Linked DNA regions of Homo sapiens: regions 1, 2, 3, 5, 6 and 7 are each linked to region 4. The links are contacts of gene promoters, found by promoter capture Hi-C in human tissues and cell types (Jung and others, 2019). All regions are on one chromosome and are shown on one strand. The core of a region is centred on a gene start or on the middle of the fragment in contact, and the rest is flanking DNA. Distances in the headings are between cores, read along the strand shown.

What was found. The method cuts DNA at HindIII sites, captures the fragments that hold promoters and counts their contacts. A contact is called where the count stands out against the background at its distance.
Region 1: a fragment that was not itself captured here is called in contact with the fragment with the promoter of SH2D3A in region 4 in 2 of the 25 tissues and cell types used here (lymphoblastoid cells and thymus).
Region 2: the fragment with the promoter of SLC25A23 here is called in contact with the fragment with the promoter of SH2D3A in region 4 in 2 of the 25 tissues and cell types used here (bladder and spleen).
Region 3: a contact is called between a fragment that was not itself captured here and the fragment with the promoter of SH2D3A in region 4, in 1 of the 25 tissues and cell types used here (lymphoblastoid cells).
Region 5: a fragment that was not itself captured here is called in contact with the fragment with the promoter of SH2D3A in region 4 in 1 of the 25 tissues and cell types used here (spleen).
Region 6: a contact is called between a fragment that was not itself captured here and the fragment with the promoter of SH2D3A in region 4, in 2 of the 25 tissues and cell types used here (IMR-90 fibroblasts and lymphoblastoid cells).
Region 7: a contact is called between the fragment with the promoter of KHSRP here and the fragment with the promoter of SH2D3A in region 4, in 4 of the 25 tissues and cell types used here (IMR-90 fibroblasts, dorsolateral prefrontal cortex, heart right ventricle and 1 more).

What each region holds. Positions count from the first base shown.
Region 1 is chr19:7,089,248-7,091,947 of GRCh38, reverse strand. LOC124904625 (a long non-coding RNA gene) reads left to right here. Exons shown (of 3, transcript XR_007067110.1): 3 at 2,497-2,700. Among named protein-coding and RNA genes, the nearest start is that of ZNF557, 21 kb to the right of the region's middle. The HindIII fragment of the contact is 5,869 bases long and covers 1-2,700 here.
Region 2 is chr19:6,458,470-6,461,169 of GRCh38, reverse strand. It overlaps SLC25A23 (solute carrier family 25 member 23), which reads left to right and starts at 1,378. Exons shown (of 10, transcript NM_024103.3): 1 at 1,378-1,697. The coding sequence starts at 1,542. RefSeq lists silencers at 687-866, 1,377-1,516, 1,567-1,626. The HindIII fragment of the contact is 25,958 bases long and covers 1-2,700 here.
Region 3 is chr19:7,195,327-7,198,026 of GRCh38, reverse strand. All of the region lies in intron 2 of INSR (insulin receptor), which reads left to right. Among named protein-coding and RNA genes, the nearest start is that of INSR, 98 kb to the left of the region's middle. RefSeq lists a silencer at 1-11 and enhancers at 1-679, 492-691. The HindIII fragment of the contact is 6,200 bases long and covers 1-2,700 here.
Region 4 is chr19:6,765,999-6,768,698 of GRCh38, reverse strand. It overlaps SH2D3A (SH2 domain containing 3A), which reads left to right and starts at 1,264. Exons shown (of 10, transcript NM_005490.3): 1 at 1,264-1,312. RefSeq lists a silencer at 726-785. The HindIII fragment of the contact is 38,619 bases long and covers 1-2,700 here.
Region 5 is chr19:6,387,131-6,389,830 of GRCh38, reverse strand. It overlaps GTF2F1 (general transcription factor IIF subunit 1), which reads left to right. Exons shown (of 13, transcript NM_002096.3): 4 at 194-387; 5 at 2,272-2,442. MIR6885 (microRNA 6885) reads left to right here and starts at 128; the gene lies at 128-193. RefSeq lists an enhancer at 2,299-2,700. The HindIII fragment of the contact is 4,380 bases long and covers 1-2,700 here.
Region 6 is chr19:6,285,895-6,288,594 of GRCh38, reverse strand. No RefSeq gene overlaps it. Among named protein-coding and RNA genes, the nearest start is that of MLLT1, 7.3 kb to the right of the region's middle. The HindIII fragment of the contact is 3,632 bases long and covers 1-2,700 here.
Region 7 is chr19:6,423,528-6,426,227 of GRCh38, reverse strand. It overlaps KHSRP (KH-type splicing regulatory protein), which reads left to right and starts at 1,417. Exons shown (of 19, transcript NM_001366299.1): 1 at 1,417-1,775. The coding sequence starts at 1,527. SLC25A41 (solute carrier family 25 member 41) reads left to right here. Exons shown (of 7, transcript NM_173637.4): 7 at 1-191. RefSeq lists an enhancer at 990-1,109. The HindIII fragment of the contact is 26,210 bases long and covers 1-2,700 here.

The DNA of each region.
Region 1 (2,700 bases), core at 126-2,625, 320 kb before region 4:
TCCTTGTTAACTTGCAATACAAACCTTTCCTTTTCTCAAAAATCTGATGTCATAGTATTGGCTTCTAGCACATTGGGTGAAGAGCTCTTTTGCTGGGTAGTGCCACCACTGTACCTACTGTGGTCCACCATGTGTGCCACTCAGATGCCCTGCATTCATTTTGTTTGTTTTGTTTTTGAGACAGAGTCTCCCTCTGTTGCCCAGGCTGGAGTGCAGTGGTACCATCTTGGCTCACTGCAACCTCTGCCTCCTGAGTTCAAGTGATTCTCCTGCCTCAGCCTCTGGAGTAGCTGGGACTATAGGCATGTGCCACCATACTCAGCTATTTTTTGTATTTTTAGTAGAAATGAGGTTTCACCATGTTGGCTAAGCTGGTCTCGAACTCCTAACCTCAAGTGATCTGCCCGCCTCTGCCTCCCAAAGTGTTGGGATTACAGGCGTGAGCCACTGTGCCCGGCCCCAGGATTCTTAAAGTAAGTGCCCTCAGGATCCAGGTTGGTCCCGTTGCCTGGAGAAACTGACAAGAGGAAGATCAGTGGGACAAACTGTAGACAGCCCTTTCCACCTGAACAAGTCTCAGAGATGCAATTGATGCTTATCACACTCCTTTACTTGCACCTTCCAGATTCCCTTTACCCTTGACTAGGGTGAAAATTCTAGATTTCCTTCTCACCTAGATCCTGCTGGTCTAGGTGGCTTACCTGGAGAGCTGCTCCAGATCCTTATGCCTACGGGGTCTTCACCATGCCCTTCTCAGGACATAGCTGGTGAAATTTTTTTATCTTTTTCTTTTTTGGAGACAGAGTCTCGCTCTGTTGCCCAGGCTGGAGTGCAGTGGCGCGATCTCGGCTCACTGCAAGCTCCGCCTCCTGGGTTCACGCCATTCTCCTGCGTCAGCCTCCCAAGTAGCTGGGACTACAGGCGCCTGCCAACGCGCCCAGTTAATTTTTTTGTATTTTTTGTAGAGACAGGGTTTCACCATGTTAGCCAGGCTGGTCTCGATCTCCTGACCTTGTGATGTGCCCACCTCGGCCTCCCAAAGTGCTGGGATTACAAGCGTGACCCACCACGCCTGGCCAAAATTTTTTTATCTTTAAAATTGGGGAAAGAATAGTAAGAGACATCCCAATGGATTCCGTGAATGCCAAATGTTTTCCTCCCTGCACTCATCATGTAACAGCAGCCTCAGATTCTATGGATGATAGCATTAATTACCTAAGTCAGTATGGTGACTTCTTTCCTTGTGTGCTGGTCTCATAGAAGTCACAGTTTAACATCCGATGAGACTCTTACTGTGTCTCTTGGTGGAAGTGTTTCCCTCTGGGAACCAAGTCCTTTAGGTTACTTCTCTTTTTTCTTTTTTTTTAGATGAAGTCTTACTCTGTCACCCAGGCTAGAGTGCAGTGGCATGATCTCGGCTCACTGCAATCTCCGCCTCCCGGGTTCAAGAGATTCTCCTGCCTCAGCCTCCTGAGTAGCTGGGATTACAGGCGCCCACCACTGTGCCTGGCTAATTTTGTATTTTTAGTAGAGACGGGGTTTCACCATGTTGGCCAGGCTGGTCTCAAACTCCTGACCTCGTGATCCACCGACCTCGGCCTCCCAAAGTGCTGGGATTACAGGGGTAAGCCACTGCGCCTGGCCAGGTTAATTATTTCTTTTGCTTTCCTCCCCAATGGCTCTGTTCCTCATCCTATACAGGAAACACTGGTGTTGGCAACTATGTTAGGCTTCATCGGGGAGTATCAGTGCATGGACACCACCCCAGGGTAGCTGAGCAACTGATAGAATTCCTGGGCTTGGATATGAACTTTCCATCCAGGTGATGGGCATGAGTAGATTCTGAGAAGCAAAAGGAGTGACCAATACTGGGTATCTTCCATTCGCCCCAGCAGATTCACCTCCTCTACCCTGCTGTACTTGGGATGATTAGTTACTATGAATGCTATCAACGAACTCCCTTACCTTATTGGCTTTTGGTTGAGTTTGGCAAATGGGGAACCCAAATATGATATAAGAAGAATGAAGGACAAGGAGGGCTGGCCCTGGCTATTTCTTTCTCTTTTTTGGTGGTGGTGGGGGGGTGGGGATGGAGTTTCACTCTGTCACCCAGGCTGGAGTGCAATGGCATGATCTTGGCTCATTGCAACCTCCACCTACCGGGTTCAAGCAATTCTCCTGCCTCAGCCTCCTGAATAGCTGGGACTACAGGCGCATGCCACCACACCCGGCTAGTTTTTGTATTTTCAGTAGAGAATGGGTTTCATCATGTTGGCCAGGCTGGTCTTGAACTCCTGATCTCAAGTGATCCACCCACCTCGGCCTCCCAAAGTGCCAGAATTATAGGTGTGAGCCACTGTGCCTGGCCGACCCTTACTATTTCTTGCAGAACTCGAGGCTGGATGTTGCCCCTCACTGACCTCCTGTCAGCTCCTGGAATGCAGCCCTCTCCTCGCTTGAACAACAACTTGCAGTTCTCTTCCTTTGTCCCTTCAGGCTTATGGGTGTCCTACGATCTGCCATTTGTTTGGAAGCTGGAGAACCAAGAAAGCTGGTAGTCTTGCTCCAGTCCAAGCTCAAAGACCTGAAAACAGGGGAGCCAACAGTGTAAACCCCAGTGTGAAGTCCAAAGGCTTGAGAACCAGGAGGGCCAATGGTGTAAGTTGCGAGTCTGAGTCTGAAGGCTGGAGAACCAGAAGC
Region 2 (2,700 bases), core at 129-2,628, 310 kb after region 4:
ATCACGAGGTCAGGAGTTCGAGACCAGCCTGGCCAACATGGTGAAACCCCGTCTCCACTAAAAATACAAAAATTAGCTGGGTTTGGTGGCGGGCGCCTGTAATCCCAGCTACTCGGGAGGCTGAGGCAAAAGAATCGTTTGAATCCGGGAGGCGGAGGTTGCAGTGAGCCGAGATCGCGCCATTGCACTCCAGCCTGAGCAACAACAGCGAAACTCCGTTTCAAAAAAAAAAAAAAAAAAAAGATAATTAATTCTTTCTAGGGTATAGAGTGATGGTTAAGGATCCCAGATCTCTTTAAACCCTGTTTTGCCCCTTAGTGGTCATCAGGACTGGGGAGAATGACTTAACCTCCGCTTCCTTATCTGCAAAGTGCGAACGCCAGTACCACCTACCTTATAGGGTTTTGGCAAAGACGACTCGAGAGGTGAGTAAAAGCCCTGGCATGTGCAAAGCACTGAATCAAAGTGAGATTTGTTATCGAGTATTCGCTGTCAAGTGGTCTGGGCTCCCTTCCCCCTAATGGTGGATCGAGAAACTGCGCCCGAAACTAGCAGTAGGGACATTCCGCAGGTGCAGCGAGTGCGACAGGCTGGGGCCCTGCCTCCAGCGCTCGACCACTGGGATCCTCAACCCCGCGCCCGGGTCACTGAGCCACCCCCTCCCCACGCCGCTCAGCGTCTGATTGCGGCCGCGGCCCCTTTAAGATCTCCTGGCAGGCGGTGGGACTGCGGGCTGGAGGCAGTCGGGGGTCTGCGGGGAGGCCCCGCCTAGGTGGGAGAAGAGGCGGGGCGGGCGGGCTCAGCCCAGGAGGCGCTGACCAATAGGAAACCGACTTTGCAGCCGCGCCGCGCGTTGATTTTCTGTTTCCCAGTCAGAGTGGGAACCGAGAAAGGAAGCGCGCGGGCGGGAAGAAGGGACAGTGGGAGAGCATCGCTCCTGGATCTTCTGTTTCTGCGGCCGAGCGGGGAAGGTGTAAGGCGCGGGCGGGCAGAGAGCGAGCGAGATGGTGCACGGTTCTTGCGTGCGTCTGGGAAAAGCGAGAACTTGAGTTCCTGAAGATTAGTGGGTGTGGCGGGGAGGTCAAGTGGAAGGGGATTATGAAACCCAATCCCCGACAGCGCTCTACCTTGCCCCCTTGGGCAAAGGGGGAAAGGGTAAACTGAGGCACGCAGAGGCGGAACTCTGAAACCAGACCTGAGACCACTGAGCTCCCTAGCCCGTCTTCCCAGAAGGAACTCTGGTGTTCCTCGGCTGTGCAATACCAGACCATCCCAGACATTCCCTCCCCACGCCCCCAGCTCCGCCCTCGGTCCCCTCCCCCCAATGCAGGTCGGGGGAGGAGACGCAAGTTCTGGCGCGGGCGGCGACGGCTAGCCGTCACCACCTCCCGCAAGTGCCAGAGCCGAGCGGACTGCGCGGAGGCTGCGGAGCCGGCGGCCGCGGGAGCTGACCCTGCGGGGTCCCGGGGGGGGAGGGGGAGCCGCGAAGCCCCCACTGAGGCCGCCGCTGCCGGGCCTCCCCTCCCCCCCGGGCGGGCGCCATGCGGGGGAGCCCGGGCGACGCGGAGCGGCGGCAGCGCTGGGGTCGCCTGTTCGAGGAGCTGGACAGTAACAAGGATGGCCGCGTGGACGTGCACGAGTTGCGCCAGGGGCTGGCCAGGCTGGGCGGGGGCAACCCAGACCCCGGCGCCCAACAGGTACCCCCACCCCCAGGGACCTCCTCCCCTCCCGGCCCCGCCCGCTCCCGGTTACCCAAGCCCCTGAACTGGGCGGCCGGAGCCACCAGGGACTACCTGTGGCTGGACTCCAGAACCTGTGTCTCTGTCTCGTTCCCCCTACCCACTCGTGTTTGGCCTAACGGGATCGCTCAAGACAGGGACGCCGAGGCCCCAAGCCTGCAGTTCCGCGGCCAACACCCGATCCCCCTGCTGCGGGGCAGGGGGCGTCTGCCTGGGAAGAGATGGGGGCGCTTTCCTGCCCACTGCCCGGGACACACCCTCCTCCAGACTGCACAGCCCATGACGTGCCCTGCTCTCACCTCCAGGAGACACACCCTCCATCCTCTGGGCACCTACTGCCCTGGCCTGCAGCTGCCCCGATCCCTGTGTTTACATTCCCTGGCCTGCCCTTTCATGGGCCGTTCACGGGCCTGGCTCACTGTCCCGGGCTGCCCCAGCCAGGGACCCAATCCTGTCTGCGGTCACCCGCAGCTGGGAATGCACCTATAACAAGACTTTCCTCCCGCTGCCCCCACCTCCACTTTGCAGGTCCTTCCCACACCTGTAGCCCCAGATCGCTCTAAGAGAACCACAGCAACCCTGAGAGCAGTCCAACCTCCCACTTCCCAAATGGGAAAAACCAAGGCCTCAGCCACTCCGCTTGGTTCTCTCCTGCCCCACATCGCCCAGGGCTTCCTCCAAAGGGAACCCCTGGGTCCCCCATGTGGACAGGGTTTTTTAAGAGGCAGCTGGGTTCAACAGGAATGAGATACCTAAAAAAATAACAAAAACTAAAAACAAGAGACAGCTGGAAGGACAGGCTTTACAGATGAGAACTGAGGTTACCATTTCCTGGTTCTGTGACCTTGAACTGGTGACTTGACCTTGCAGAGCCTCAGTTTGCTCACCAGGAAAACTAGACCACTCACACCCACCGCACAGACCTGTGGTGGCTGTAGGGATCTGGCTGAGAAGTTAGCTG
Region 3 (2,700 bases), core at 72-2,571, 430 kb before region 4:
GACACACACACACGCTCGCCCACCATGGACACACACACACTCCCACCATGGGGACACACACACACTCCCACCATGGGGACACACACACACACACACACACACACACACTCTCACTCTGGAACCGACCAATCCTGGGGCTGCACAGACACACACGCGCACACACTCTCTCTCGTTCTCTCTCTCTCTCTCTCGTTCTCTCTCTCTCTCGCTCTCTCTCCCACTCTGGAACCGACCAATCCTGGGGACACACACACACACACACACACACTCCCACTCTGGAACCTGCCAATCACACACACACACACACTCCCACTCTGGAACCTGCCAAACACACACACACACTCCCACTCTGGAACCTGCCAAACACACACACACACTCCCACTCTGGAACCTGCCAAACACACACACACTCCCACTCTGGAATCTGACACACACACACACACACACACCCAAACACACACACTCCCACTCTGGAACCTGACACACACACACACACACACACACACACACCCCCACTCCCACTCTGGAACCTGCCAATCCTGGGGCTGCTCTAGCGAGGAGACCCCTGGGACCCCGCCTCCTTCCGGGCCTCTGCGTGCGCAGTATATCTCCTAAGAGATCCGCAGCATGGAGAGGGCCCGCCCCCGTGGACGGACTCACTCCCTCCCCACTCACTCACTCACTCGCTTACTCACTCACTCACTCTCTCTCCGAAGAGAAGAAGCCTGCGGCTCCCGAAGCGGGAAGGCCCTCTGGTACTCTGTTCCCTTTCTAGCCTCTATATGCGCCGTATGTCTCCAAAGAGCTGCGCAGTTCTATTCCAAAGGCGTCATCGCGTGTGGGGCGGTATTGTCAGGCAAGGAAAAGGGGCGCTTCCCCGCTTCAAGGACACGCGCTCCTGCGGTCGTCGCTGCTGACCACGAAGCTGTCAAAAGTTCACCTCCTTGGCTGCCCCCAACCCCTGCCCCTTTGCCATTAAATCATTTACTAGATTCCAACTAGAGGAATTTGGCTCCGGGGACTCGAACCTCTGAGGTCAGGGTCTGGGGCCAGTGTGGGAGAGAAAGGCCTTGAATGGAAACAAAATAAATTACTTTAAGGAGTTTATAAAACTCACACTTATAGGGAGAGCCGCGGGGCCCTGTGGTCAATGTACCAGCAGGCCCATGACGCAACTGTTCCGTTTGGAAATTTCTGGAAAGCAGTAATTTTTGGAATCATAAATCTTGAGTATTTTTTTTTTAAACTTTGGAAAGGTTTTTAAACTTTTTTTTTTTAAGTTTTTTTTAAACTTCGGAAAGTTTTAAGCTTTGGAAAGAATGTAACAAAATGTTATTAACATATGTGGAGCTATCGAATCATTTAATGGTGGTTTCTGTATTTTCTGTTTTGTTTTTTATCACATACCTTCTTAATTAAGAAAAACCCAAACTAATTTGAACTTTAAAAGGGAGGCAAACAAAAAAGTGTCAGAGTGACTGGATTTTTGTGCGCAAGTCATTTAACAATGCAGCGCTGCGTCTCCTATTTCTCTGGCTTTTAACCTTGCTTTGGACAAATTGGTCGCTTTTTGTTTTGATGTCGTTTCAAGCTTACGGAAAAATTGCAAGATTATATCTAGATCAATCAATTGTTTACGTTTTATTCTACTTGTTTTATTACCTTTCTAATATATTTATGCACACACATTATATACATTTTTTTCCCCTGAACTATTTGAGAGTTAGTTGCAGGCATGATACATACTCCTTAATTCTTCAGTGGATATTTCCTAAGAACAAGAAAGTTCTGAGGCCAGGCGTGGTGGCTCATGCCTGTAATCCCAGCACTTTGGGAAGCTGAGGCGGGCGGATCACCTGAGGTCAGGAGTTCGAGACCAGCCTGACCAACTTGGAGAAGCCCCGTCTCTACTAAAAATACAAAATTAGCCAGGCGTGGTGGCACATGCCTGTAATCCCAGCTACTCGGGAGGCTGAGGCAGGAGGTTCGCTTGAACCTGGGAGGCAGAGGTTGCAGTGAGCCGAGATGGTGCCATTGCACTCCAGCCTGGGCAACAAGAGCGAAACTCCGTCTCAAACAAAAAAAAAAAAAAAAAGAAAGAAAAGAAAGAAAGTTCTCTTACATAATGATGGTACTGGTGCCGTTGTCAAAATCAGGAAATTAACATTGATACAGTATTTTAATCCAATGTCTTCTATAATCTTATCTGTTGTCTCAATATTGCCCTATATAGATTTTTTTTCCTAGGCGAAGGTTCCAATCTAGGATCACACTTTGCATTTGAATGCTGCTGTCTCTTAAGTCCGCACAATTCCTCAGTTTTCTGTGTCTTTCCCAACATTGGCTTTTATTTATTTATTTATTTATTTATTTTTATTTTTTTTTGAGGCGGAGTCTTACTCTGTCACCCAGGCTAGAGTGCAGTGGTGAGATCTTGGCTGACTGCAACCTCTGTCTCCTGGGTTCAAGTGATTCTCCTGCCTCAGCCCCCAAGTAGCCGGGATTACAGGCATGCGCCACCACACCCAGCTAATTTTTGTGTTTTTAGTAGAGAAAGGGTTTCACCATGTTGGCCAGGCTGGTCTCGAACTCCTGATCTCCAGTGATCTTCCTGCCTCAGCCTCCCAAAGTGCTGGGATTACACGTGTTAGCCACCACACCTGGCCAACATTGGCAGTTTTGAAGAGCACAGGCCAGTTA
Region 4 (2,700 bases), core at 15-2,514:
CAGAACAGCCCTTGTGTACAGTAAGTGCTCAATAAATGTTAGCTGCTGCTACTGCTTTTAAGACTGTGGTTACTGGGGCCAAGCACAGTGGTTCATGCTTGCTTGTAATCTCAGCGCTCTGGGAGGCCAAGGCAGGAAGTTCGCATGAGCCCAGGAGTTCCAGAGCCTGGGCAGCATAGTAAGACGCCACATCTACAAAAAATAAAATAAAATCAGCTGGGTGTGGTGGTGTGCACCTTTAGTCTCAGCTGCTTGGAAGGCTGAAGCGGGAGGATAGCTTAAGCCCAGGAGGTTGAGGCTACAGTGAGCTATGATCACCACTGCACTCCGGCCTGGGCAATATAGCAAGACCCTGTCTCTACAAGACAAGACTGATGTTAATATGAGGAACTCATCAATAAACGTGGCCAAAGAGTCCTCTCTCTTGCACTAGGTCCCTGTCACCTTTTCTCTTGTTCGTCTCCAGGCATCACGATGGAAGTCCCCCCCACCCTTCTTCCCACCTGGGAAACCACCTGAATGATTTGCCTTCCACCTCCACCAAAGTCCCGCCCCGCTCCAGCGTGCTGTCACTGAAGGAAGCTGTCGCGTTTTCCCGGACGTCTCTCCACAAAACCCGCCACCTAAATGGGGCTTCTTTCCGGAAAATCCGGGAGGGCGGTCTGGAGGAAGCGTACCCCTCCTTACGTCACAGCTGCCGCAGCTACCCCAGCCTGGCGTAAGAGCCCGAGGGAGTTGCCCTGCCCTGACCCGGAGCCTTGGCGGGGAGGGGAGAGAGGCACCCCACTCCACCCCGCCCTGGTCCCAAAGGGCCATGGGTGCTTGGGGCCGCCTGGGTGGAAGGGAGGGGCAGGGTTCTAAGGGGCGGGAACGTTGGGATGAAATTTCTTCTATTGCCCTAAGGGGCGGGGCTGAGAAGGAGGTGGCTGCGGGTGGGCGTAGTCATTCGGCGGTGGTCGTGGCTATATACAAGGGGAGGGGCCACTGGCAGGAAAGGATGCGTGGTGCTCCCCTAGTGGGCGGGGTCTATGGAGAAAGCGGTGCGATGCAGAAGGAGGCGTGGCTAGTAGCAAAAAAAATGGTTTTAAGGGGGCGGAGCAAGGGCCTGGGAAGTTAGTTTGAGGCGGGGCCCGCAGGGGGCGGGGTCTGCAGGAGGTGTGGTCAGGTAACTGGGCTGAGTTCCCACTAGGTGTGGTCTGGGAAGGCTGGGGCGGTGGCAAGGTGGAGGGCGGGGGTGACAGCAGCCCGGAGCCGCGGAGCCTCAGCTTCCGCCTGGACCCAGCCTCGTGGGAGCCCCGCGGGTCCTGCCCAGGTGAGTGGAGCCCCAGGGCAGATCCAGAACCAGGATTATTGGGATGGGGAGTCCTCTCTTTCCAGGTGGGGTCACCGGCTCGCAGGGAGGATCTGGGGTAGAAGAGGTCGCCTCGCGAATGAGAGGGTCGCTGTGCGTTACGCGTGTCGGTGTGCTCGGGCTCACCTGGGCGTGCCTCTCTAAGTGTATTTCCTGTGCAGCACAGAAAGCCATTGTTTCCATTTTTGCCTGAGTGATCCTCTTAAACGGCGAATCAGATCGGGCCCCTCCTTCACTTAAAACCCTTGGGTCATAGAGATTAAAATTCAAAGTCCACTAGTTTTTGCCTAGTCTCTCCTCCTGATCTCTCCAACCTCATTGCCCTCCTATCTACTCCTTCCTCATCGTATTCCGGCTACACCAGCCGCCTTGATGATGTAAAATGTAAAAAGCAAGTCCATCTCAGCTCCAGGCCTTTACCCTTACTGTACCCCTCACCCAGGCGACTCCTCCAAATCTTTGCCTAACTGCCTCCTTCTGTACTGAGGTCTCAGTTCCAATGTCACTTTATAGGAGAGGCTGTCCTGTCCAGCCTCCTCTATCACATCTCCCTGGCTTATCACTTTCATTGATAACTCTTAGAAATGGTCTGTCTTCTCCATTCATCTTGTGCTCGTTTGCAGTCTGTCTTGCGCAGCCGACTGCAAGCTCTGGAGGGCAGGGTGGTGCCGAGCTTTAATCTCCTTAGTCACTGTATCTCTAGGTCCTAGAACAGAGCCTGGTGCACAGCAAGTGCTCCAGCAATGGTCGTCCAACGTCAAAAGCGAGTCCTGCCTACATCTGTGTTTGTGTTGCCTGTGCTGGTGGTTCCCACCCTCCACGTCCTCCCCACACGTGGACACATGTTTATGATCCAACTGGAACATGAATAATCCCCTCTCTCCTCTCTCTATGCTTGGTCTGATTCCTGATTCTGCCCGTTTCTTCTCTTCCGTGCCCGAATAAATGATCCCAAAGGACTCAGAGGCAGGAGATGGCTTAGTTGGCCTTTGGCTGACCTATGGCCACCCTGTGTCCTCAAACTAACCAGAACCTTGCCATTGACTCAACTTCACTCTCACTAAGGGAGACACAAGACAGGAACTTGGGGTTGGGAAACTCTGCGACCGAGGCTAGCCCTGGTCCAGGTGACAAACAGGAAGTGCGCAGGCATTGCAAAGACACACCTGGCTTCAGGTATGCGGCACTGGCAGCTGGCTCCCTGCCCAGCGCTCCTCCCCTAAAGCCACCTAGGGCTGGTCTGGGAACTTCCTGCTGACTCAGGAGGCAGGAATTTCTCTGCAGACCCCACCAGAAGACTTTGCAGGGCTGCAGGGAGAGCTTGCAGGAGAGTAAGAAGCAGATTATCT
Region 5 (2,700 bases), core at 1-2,500, 380 kb after region 4:
AGAGCGCAAGGCTCGCCCAAATTCCCTTTACCCAGATTTGTCAAAGGCTACCGTTCTCCTCCCTTGTTGCCAAGTGGTAAGTTGGTTTTGAGAATCTAGAGCTTGGCCTAGGGCAAGGAAGGGCGTTCCTGGAGGGGGGCACTGCGCAAGCAAAGCCAGGGACCCTGAGAGGCTTTGCTTCCTGCTCCCCTAGGCTCGGCTGGAGCGGGACTTGAGCAACAAGAAAATCTACCAAGAGGAGGAGATGCCCGAATCGGGCGCGGGCAGTGAGTTCAACCGCAAGCTTCGGGAGGAGGCTCGGAGGAAGAAGTACGGCATCGTCCTCAAGGAGTTCCGGCCCGAGGACCAGCCCTGGCTGCTCCGGGTCAACGGCAAATCAGGCAGGAAGTAAGTGGTGGGGCGGTGGCGGTGCCGGCTTAGTGACCAGTCCACATCCCCAGGCCTCAACTTACATACTTTGTGGGGTACCCTCTCTGAACCTCAGATTCCCACTGCTGCAGTGGAAGTGCTGGCACTTCCATCCCTGTAGGATTTTATTATTTATTTATTTATTTATTTATTTATGTTATCTTATTTTACTTACTTGTATTTTTTTGAGACAGAGTCTTGCTCTGTCGCCCAGGCTGGAGTGCAGTAGCACGATCTTGGCTCACTGCAACCCACACCTCCCAGGTTCAAGTTATTCTCCTGCCTGAGCCTCCTGAGTAGCTGGGATTACAGGTGCCTGCCACCACCACGCCCAGCTAATTTTTGTATTTTTAGTAGAGACAGGGTTTCACCATATTGGTCAGGCTGGTCTCGAACTTGGCGATCCTCCCGCCTCGGCCTCCCGTAGTGCTGGGATTACAGGCGTGAGCCACCGTGCCCAGCCTACTTATTTATTTTGAGACAGGGTCTCACTCCGTTGCCCAGGCTGGAGTGCAGTGGTGCGATCGTAGCTCACTGCAGGCTCCAACTCCTGGGCTCGAGATCTTCCCACCTCAGCATCCTGAGTAGCTGGGACTATAGGCACGCCCCACCATGCCTGGCTAATTTTTGTATTTTTGGTAGAGATGGGGTCTTGCTGCGTTGCTCAAGCTGGTCTTGAACTCCTGGGGTCAAGTGATCCTCCTACCTTGGTCTCCCAAAGTGCTGGGATTATAGGTATGAGCCACTGCCCAGGCCCTGGGGTTGTGTTTTTGAAGACAGTTCACTGAGTTGGTGCTTGTGCCTGGCTCTGAGGCAGCTCTGAGTGCCACAATGCAGGAAGCTTAGGTGGCCAGCCCTGGGAGCTCATGACACTTGAGATGACCTCTCAGAGGGGGCAGACTGAGGGCAGAACAGGAGGGGTCCAGGTTAGGTTGATGAAGGGTGCTCCAGGCACAGCAGTTGGGTGATAGTGACAGACACAGGCAGCTCACACAGGGCAGTGGGTGCCAGGATGTGCTGGGTCCAGCGGAGCCTTGGAAAGCTGTAGGCAGGGAAGAGGCACTCACCCAGACTGTCCGGAACTTTGGGGTAGAAAAGAATGAGGTAGAGGCCTCAAGGAGGCTGGGCAGTTGTTTAGGCTTGAGGAAATGGTGGCCCGGGCCAGGTGTCCACTTCAGATTTGGCCATGCCATGGCTGGGCGCGGTGGCTCACGCCTGTAATCCTAGCCCTTTGGGAGGCAGAGGCGGGCGGATTACGTGGGGTCAGGGGTTCGAAACTAGCCTGGCCAACATGGTGAAACCCTGTCTCTACTAAAACTACAAAAATTAGCTGGGTGTGGTGGCAGACACCTGTAATCCCAGCTACTCGGGAGGCTGAGGCATGAGAATTGCTTGAACCCGGGAGGTGGAGGTTGCAGTGAGCTGAGATGGTGCCACTGCACTCCAGCCTGGGTGCCAGAGCGAGACTCCATCTCAAAAAAAAAAATTTGGCCATGCCTTCCCGCCCCATCTTCTCACTTGGCTCCTCAGTTTCCCGGGTGTGGCCCACAGATAGCAGAGCTGGAGGCAAATGTAGACAGTTTGACTGCAGGGTTGGGCTCTCCTGAGATAATCTCACACAGTCTTTCCAGAAATGATCCCGATGTGCACACGCCCAGCACTTTGCAGGGTAGGTGCGCCGGCCCTGTTCCCCAGATGTGGAAATTGACGAGGCCCAGGTGGTTGAAGGGCCTGCCCAGGCCTCATGGGCATTTCTTGGTCTTCCTCCTATGGCAAGTGCCATAAAGGAGGCAGGCCCCGGGGGGACACGGGGGGGCTGGGGCTGGTCCCTATGGGCCAGGCCATGACCGTGGCTCCCTGCAGGTTCAAGGGCATCAAGAAGGGAGGCGTAACAGAGAACACGTCCTACTACATCTTCACCCAGTGCCCCGACGGGGCCTTCGAGGCCTTCCCCGTGCACAACTGGTACAATTTCACACCGCTGGCCCGGCATCGCACGCTCACTGCCGAGGAGGCCGAGGAGGAGTGGGAGAGGTGAGTGGGCTGGGTGGTGGCTGGGGACAGAAGTGAGGGAAATGGGGTGCCTTGCCATGGATATATCACCAGGCCCTGTGCTGGGAGCTGGGGACTCAGGGGTAACCAGGGCAGACCCCACTCGGCCGTCTCAGAGCTGTCAGTTCAGGAGGAAACAGATAGGAGGCCTTAGGGCCACAATGGGGCACCCCAGAGGGTGCTGCCAGAGCCAGAGTCTGTGACCCGGAGCTCAAATTGGCAGAGCAGGGTGGGGTCTAA
Region 6 (2,700 bases), core at 156-2,655, 480 kb after region 4:
AGGTGGATGACCTGAGGTCAGGTGTTCAAGACAAGCCTGCCCAACATGGTGAAACCCCATCTCTATTAAAATACAAAAATTAGCCAGGCATGGTGGTGCATGCCTGAAATCCCAACTACTTTGGAGGCAGATGTTGCAGTGAGATAAGATCACACCACTGCACTCCAGCCTGGGCGACAGAGCAAGGCTCTGTCTCAAACACACACACACACACACACACACACACACGCGTGCGCACAGAAATTTAATGTTGTATATAAAGAAGAGATAGGAGCTGGGTGCAGTGGCTCATGCCTGTAATCTCAACACTTTGGGAGGTCAAGGTGGGTGGATCACCTAAGGTCAGGAGTCAAGATCATGCCATGCCACTGCACTCCAGCCTGGGCGACAGAGCAAGACTCCATCTCAAAAAAAAAAAAAAAAAAGAAGAGATAAGAACCTTGACAACCATGAAAGAAAGAAAGATAGGAGACTGGAGGTCCTAGTGCCAACAACACCCTAATGGGCGCTTAGGGACTTGAGTTTCAGGAGTTAGTCCAGGGGCCTTTGGATAACACTGAGGCATAGCCTCAGCCAGATACCCTCAGTTGCCCCAGGACCTCCTTCTGGTCCCATGTAACAGGTAGACCTCATGGAAGGAAACGGGATTGAAACAAACCCAACATTCTCAACACTTGAGGATGATGAGGGATTGACAGTGTCCTCCCCAGCAAGGCTATCATCCATGTTTTAAGTCCAGCATCTCTGCTAGTTAATTTTAACTGGCTAATAGAGGCCTGGTGTTTTTCTTTCATTTTAGCTATTGTTGAGTTTAGGGACTCCTAAAAAGGGACAGAAAGAGCAGATCTGCTTTTACTCACCCTTTCACTCACCCTTCTGCAGATCCTGGACGAGCCCTCAAAAATGTTGCAGGATCCTTGGGGTGTTGATTTCTGGTTGGAAACCTCTGTGGCTGGTGGCACCTTTGCCTGAGTTTTGCTCGGGCCCACTGGGCTCATTCCACCCACACGGCCTGGCAGGCTGTGCTCAGCTCACACTACTAGCCTGGATCTCACACTTGCCAAGGGCAAGCCAGGCATGGAGGGGCGAGGGGTGTGTGAGCAAGCAAGCAAGCATGAGGTCCGGCCACTGCATGCAGCCAGGCACACCAGCTGCTGCAGCAGAGCAGACAGCTCCAGGTGCTGGCAGGGGCCCTGGCTCTCTGAGAGGCTGCGGCCAGACCAGGTGCACCATAAGCAGCTTCCACAGCTGCCACCAGGGAATGCAGTGGCACTCAGAAGCTTGGAGACTATAGGAAACACTGGGGTCCAAAGAGGGAGTCACAGCCCTGGCTCAGGGAGCTCCTAGGTCCCTGAAGGGCCACAGCTCTTCTCTCCTTCTCTTCACCCACAACATGGCAAGGCGCATGTTTCAGCCCTGTGGGTTTTATAGCTCTTTCAGCCCTGCTGTTTAGCAGTTCCTGAATTCTTGTCCTGTGCCCAAGAAGAATGAGGTATGTGGACAAGTGGAGGGTGAGCAAGGTGAACAGGAGCTTTATTGAGCGACAGAGTAGCTCAGAGGAGGCCTTGGATTGGGTAGCTCCTCTCTGCAGGCAGTCCATCCTGTCATTTTCTGTGGCTCTCAGTGAAGAGGAGGCCCTGGAGTGGGTAGCTTCTCTCTGCGGGCAGGTTGTCCCATTGCTTGCCCAGCTTTCAGCAGAGGGGAGGCCCTGGAGTGGGTAGCTCCTCTCTGCAAGCAGGTTGTGCCATCATTCCCTGCAGCTCTCAGCAGAAGGAGGCCCTGGGGTGAGTTGCTTCTCTCTGCAGGCAGGTCATCCCATGTTCATCCCAGCTCTTAGCAAAGAAGAGGCCTTAGAGTGAGTTGCTCCTCTCTGCAGCTGGTAGTCCCGACGTCTCTGCAGCTCTCAGCAGAGAGGAGGCCCTGGAGTTGGTAGCTGCTCTCTGAAGCTGGTCATCCCGATATCTGCCCAGCTTTGGCTGAGCCCAGGGCTTTTATGGGCCTCAGAGGGGAAAAAATGCATGCTGATTGGTCCATGAGCAGGCCTGGAAAAGGCATCACATGTTTCCACTCCAGTCCATGGGGCTGGTAGCCCAGCCCCTAGCCTTCAGGCCCTCCCTGGCCTGAAGGTGGGGCCTCACCAGGGACCCATCCCCTTCCATCCAGGAACCTGTCTACCTCCTGCTGCTGTTGATGGTGCCCAGGCTATAGGTGCCAAGGGGCGCATGCAGGTCAGCACTGAGCTGCCCTCAGCCCCCCCTTTGGCTTCCCTCCTATGCTCGTTGGTGCCCGAAGTCCAGATGGGGCTGAGGTAGCAGGGGGCTGGTGTGTCTGTGCTGCCCCAAGTTTGTGCACACCCTGCCTGGCTGCAACAGCTCTGGGGCTCAGCCCCAACTTTGCTTTGAGATGGAGTGGGCACCAACAGCAGGGAGAAGCCAAGCAGTGGAAGCAGACATTTCTGAGCCTGCAAGGGCAGGGGGAACCTTCCCGGGCCCCTAGGAGTGCAGGGACTCCTAATCTGCAGCTGCAGTTTGGACAGCTGCAGCTGCACCTGGGAGGGTGGGGCTCCTGCCTGCCTCTGGGCCTGAGAGCCCAGTAATGCCCAGGTCTGTAGCCATGGCTTTAGTGGCTGCAGCACCACCCAGGGAGCTCCCACCCCAATGCAGAAGGGGCGGGGCTCCCACTTGTCACCAGCTTCTGCCA
Region 7 (2,700 bases), core at 168-2,667, 340 kb after region 4:
CTGAAGCTGGGGTTGGTGGTGGGTGGAGGGGGGCAGTGCTGGGTCAGAAAACTCCTGGGACTCCCTCCCCAGGGTGCAGCCTGAGACAAGAAACGTGGACTCCAGTCTGGCCCCTTGTGGGTCGTCCTGGCTCCAGGGCGAAATGGTGAACATGTCACACAACAAGGAATAAAGAGATGGTTTTTGCTGAACGTGTCTGGATACTTGGGCCTAGGAGTGGAACTGGGTGCATGAGATCCCTGGACCCAGTAGGGGAGCTGGGGACCTTGGGCCTCTGGGTCCTGAATGGGAATTTGTGTCCAGGAGAGGAAGTGAGGACCTAGGATAGGAGCTTGAGGCTTGGATCCCAGGGCCTTAGGCGAAGGGAGTGAGGGGTGTGAAGTGAGGGGTGTGATCGAGGCTGTGATCCCTCGATCCCGGTTGTTGGAACGGTTCTGGACTCGTGAGTGGGGCTGGTTCCTTGAGTCCTGCAAGAGAACTGGACGCTCTAGATGGGGGGTCGAGAGAGAAGAAGGCCCGGGGGATCCCGAGTTTCCTGCTTTCCGGCCTCCCCACCTCCGGAAGCGCTCGATCTCTAAGGCTTCAAGCGGGCCACGTGCCGGGCCTACCCAACCAGGCTGCCGGTGAGCTAACCCAGACATCAGGCCTGAGTTCGGGCAGCCGATTGCCACCGCCCACGTCGGCTGCCATTCACTACAGTTCCCGCTAATCCCCTCGCTGTCTGGTGGCCGACTCCGCCCCAATGCAGCGGCGCTTCCACTGGCTCCCACCAAAAGTGGGCGCTTTGATTTCCTTCATTCCCATTTGTCCAGACCAGTGTCAGTCACCGAACACCCACCCATGTCGCTCAGCCATTGGCTTAGAAGTCAGGGATAGAAAAGGATTCTGGTTAACAAGGGAAGCAATTAAAGTCCAAAGCCAACCTCATCACCCAGAACTCGTCAGGAATTGGATTAATTGGCTGCCCATCTTTACAAGCACCACCTCTCACGTGCATTCATTGGCTTGTGTCCACGACTATCAAACCTAACGCCCACCCAGCCGGTCCATAGGAGTCTTCCACTAGGCCCGGCCTTACAGTCCACGTGACTCTTCAGAACCGTCAATCTAATTCTGAAGCCGCCCCGCGAATCTGGCACTCGCGTTTCATTGGGCCTCCTGCCTTCTCAGATCTCCTTCATTTGCCCGCCCAGCACGGGCAGCTCGCAGCTATTGCCTCTGAGAGCTGTCAGTCACTCTGAGCCTCCCGCCCACTGCCCCTCATTGCACTCCGATTGGCCACCTCCTACAGAGCTCGCGATTGGTGTCCGGGGTGCGGCGGCTGCCTCCCATTGGCCCGCCGGAGTCGTCCGTCACGTCGGCGGCGGGAGGGGCGACTCTCTCCCCCCTCGTCGTCCTCCCAGCGGCTGGGTTCCCAGAGTGCTCCGCGGCCGTGTGGAGCGAGGCCTTGTTCCCGCGTTGAGCCGCCGCCGCCGCCGCCGCCTCCTCAGCTTCAGCCTCCGCGCCAGGCCCGGCCCCGCCGCGCCATGTCGGACTACAGCACGGGAGGACCCCCGCCCGGGCCGCCGCCGCCCGCCGGCGGGGGCGGGGGAGCCGGAGGCGCCGGGGGAGGCCCTCCGCCGGGCCCGCCAGGCGCGGGGGACCGGGGCGGCGGCGGTCCCGGCGGCGGCGGCCCGGGCGGGGGGTCGGCCGGGGGCCCCTCTCAGCCACCCGGCGGAGGCGGCCCGGGAATCCGCAAGGACGCTTTCGCCGACGCCGTGCAGCGGGCCCGCCAGGTGAGGAGGCCGAGGGCCTGAGGGGCGCGCTCGCGCGCGCGCGCAGGCGGGGGAGGGGGCGGGGGTCACGTGCGCGCGCGCGCGCAGGGTCGCGGAGGGGGGCCGGGGCCGTCGCGGGGTCACGTGGGCGGTAGGCGGGGGCCTGGCCCTCCCGCTGCGCCTCGAGTGGGATCCCAACGGGTGACCCCCCTGCAGGGAGTAGGGGCGCACTGGGGGTCACCAGGAGCGGCGCCTGGGTGTGCAGGCGCCCCGGAGCTCGGAGACGCACTTTTGGGACCCCCCCCTTAGCCCCCCGGCCTTAGGACATGCCTGGAGGCAGGGGTCCACCTTCCCGGGCGGAGGGCCTTTACTCTCCCCTCCATATCAGGGCAAAGGGCAGTGTTTGCCCCCAACCCAGTCCCATTTCTGTCCCCTCTCTAGGAGAAAGGGACATTGTGGGGGTGGGAGGGACAGTCCTTCCTCTTCAGTCGGGAAAGTGGATGGGGACCTGTCTAGGGCTGAGCACTTGGGCGAAATGGGGAAGACGAGCATGGGGACTGGCTCTTGGATGCTTTGGTGGCTTGAAAGCGTGGTCTGTCTCTTTGGGGGAAAGAAGGGAGGGTCTCCCACCCCCGTGTATTGAGGCGTAATGACAAGGAAGTGTCACATGCTGCTAGGACTGACCTCTCCAGCTCCATTTGCAGCCTCCCCATGGCCTGGAGGGGTGGGGGTCGGTAGAATGGGAGGACTTTGCCGCCGACCGGCTCCTGGGCTGTCCCAATGCCTCCGGGGCTAGAGACTGGCTCCTCCCAAGGTGGGAGGTCCCGTTAAGTGAACGCCTGTGTTCTGGCCCTCTGTCGTCTCTCTCACCCTTGGAGTTGGGTGGGTTCTAGCGTGCATTTGGTCTTATTGCCCATGGAACCGTCTGATTCTGGGACAGCTTGAA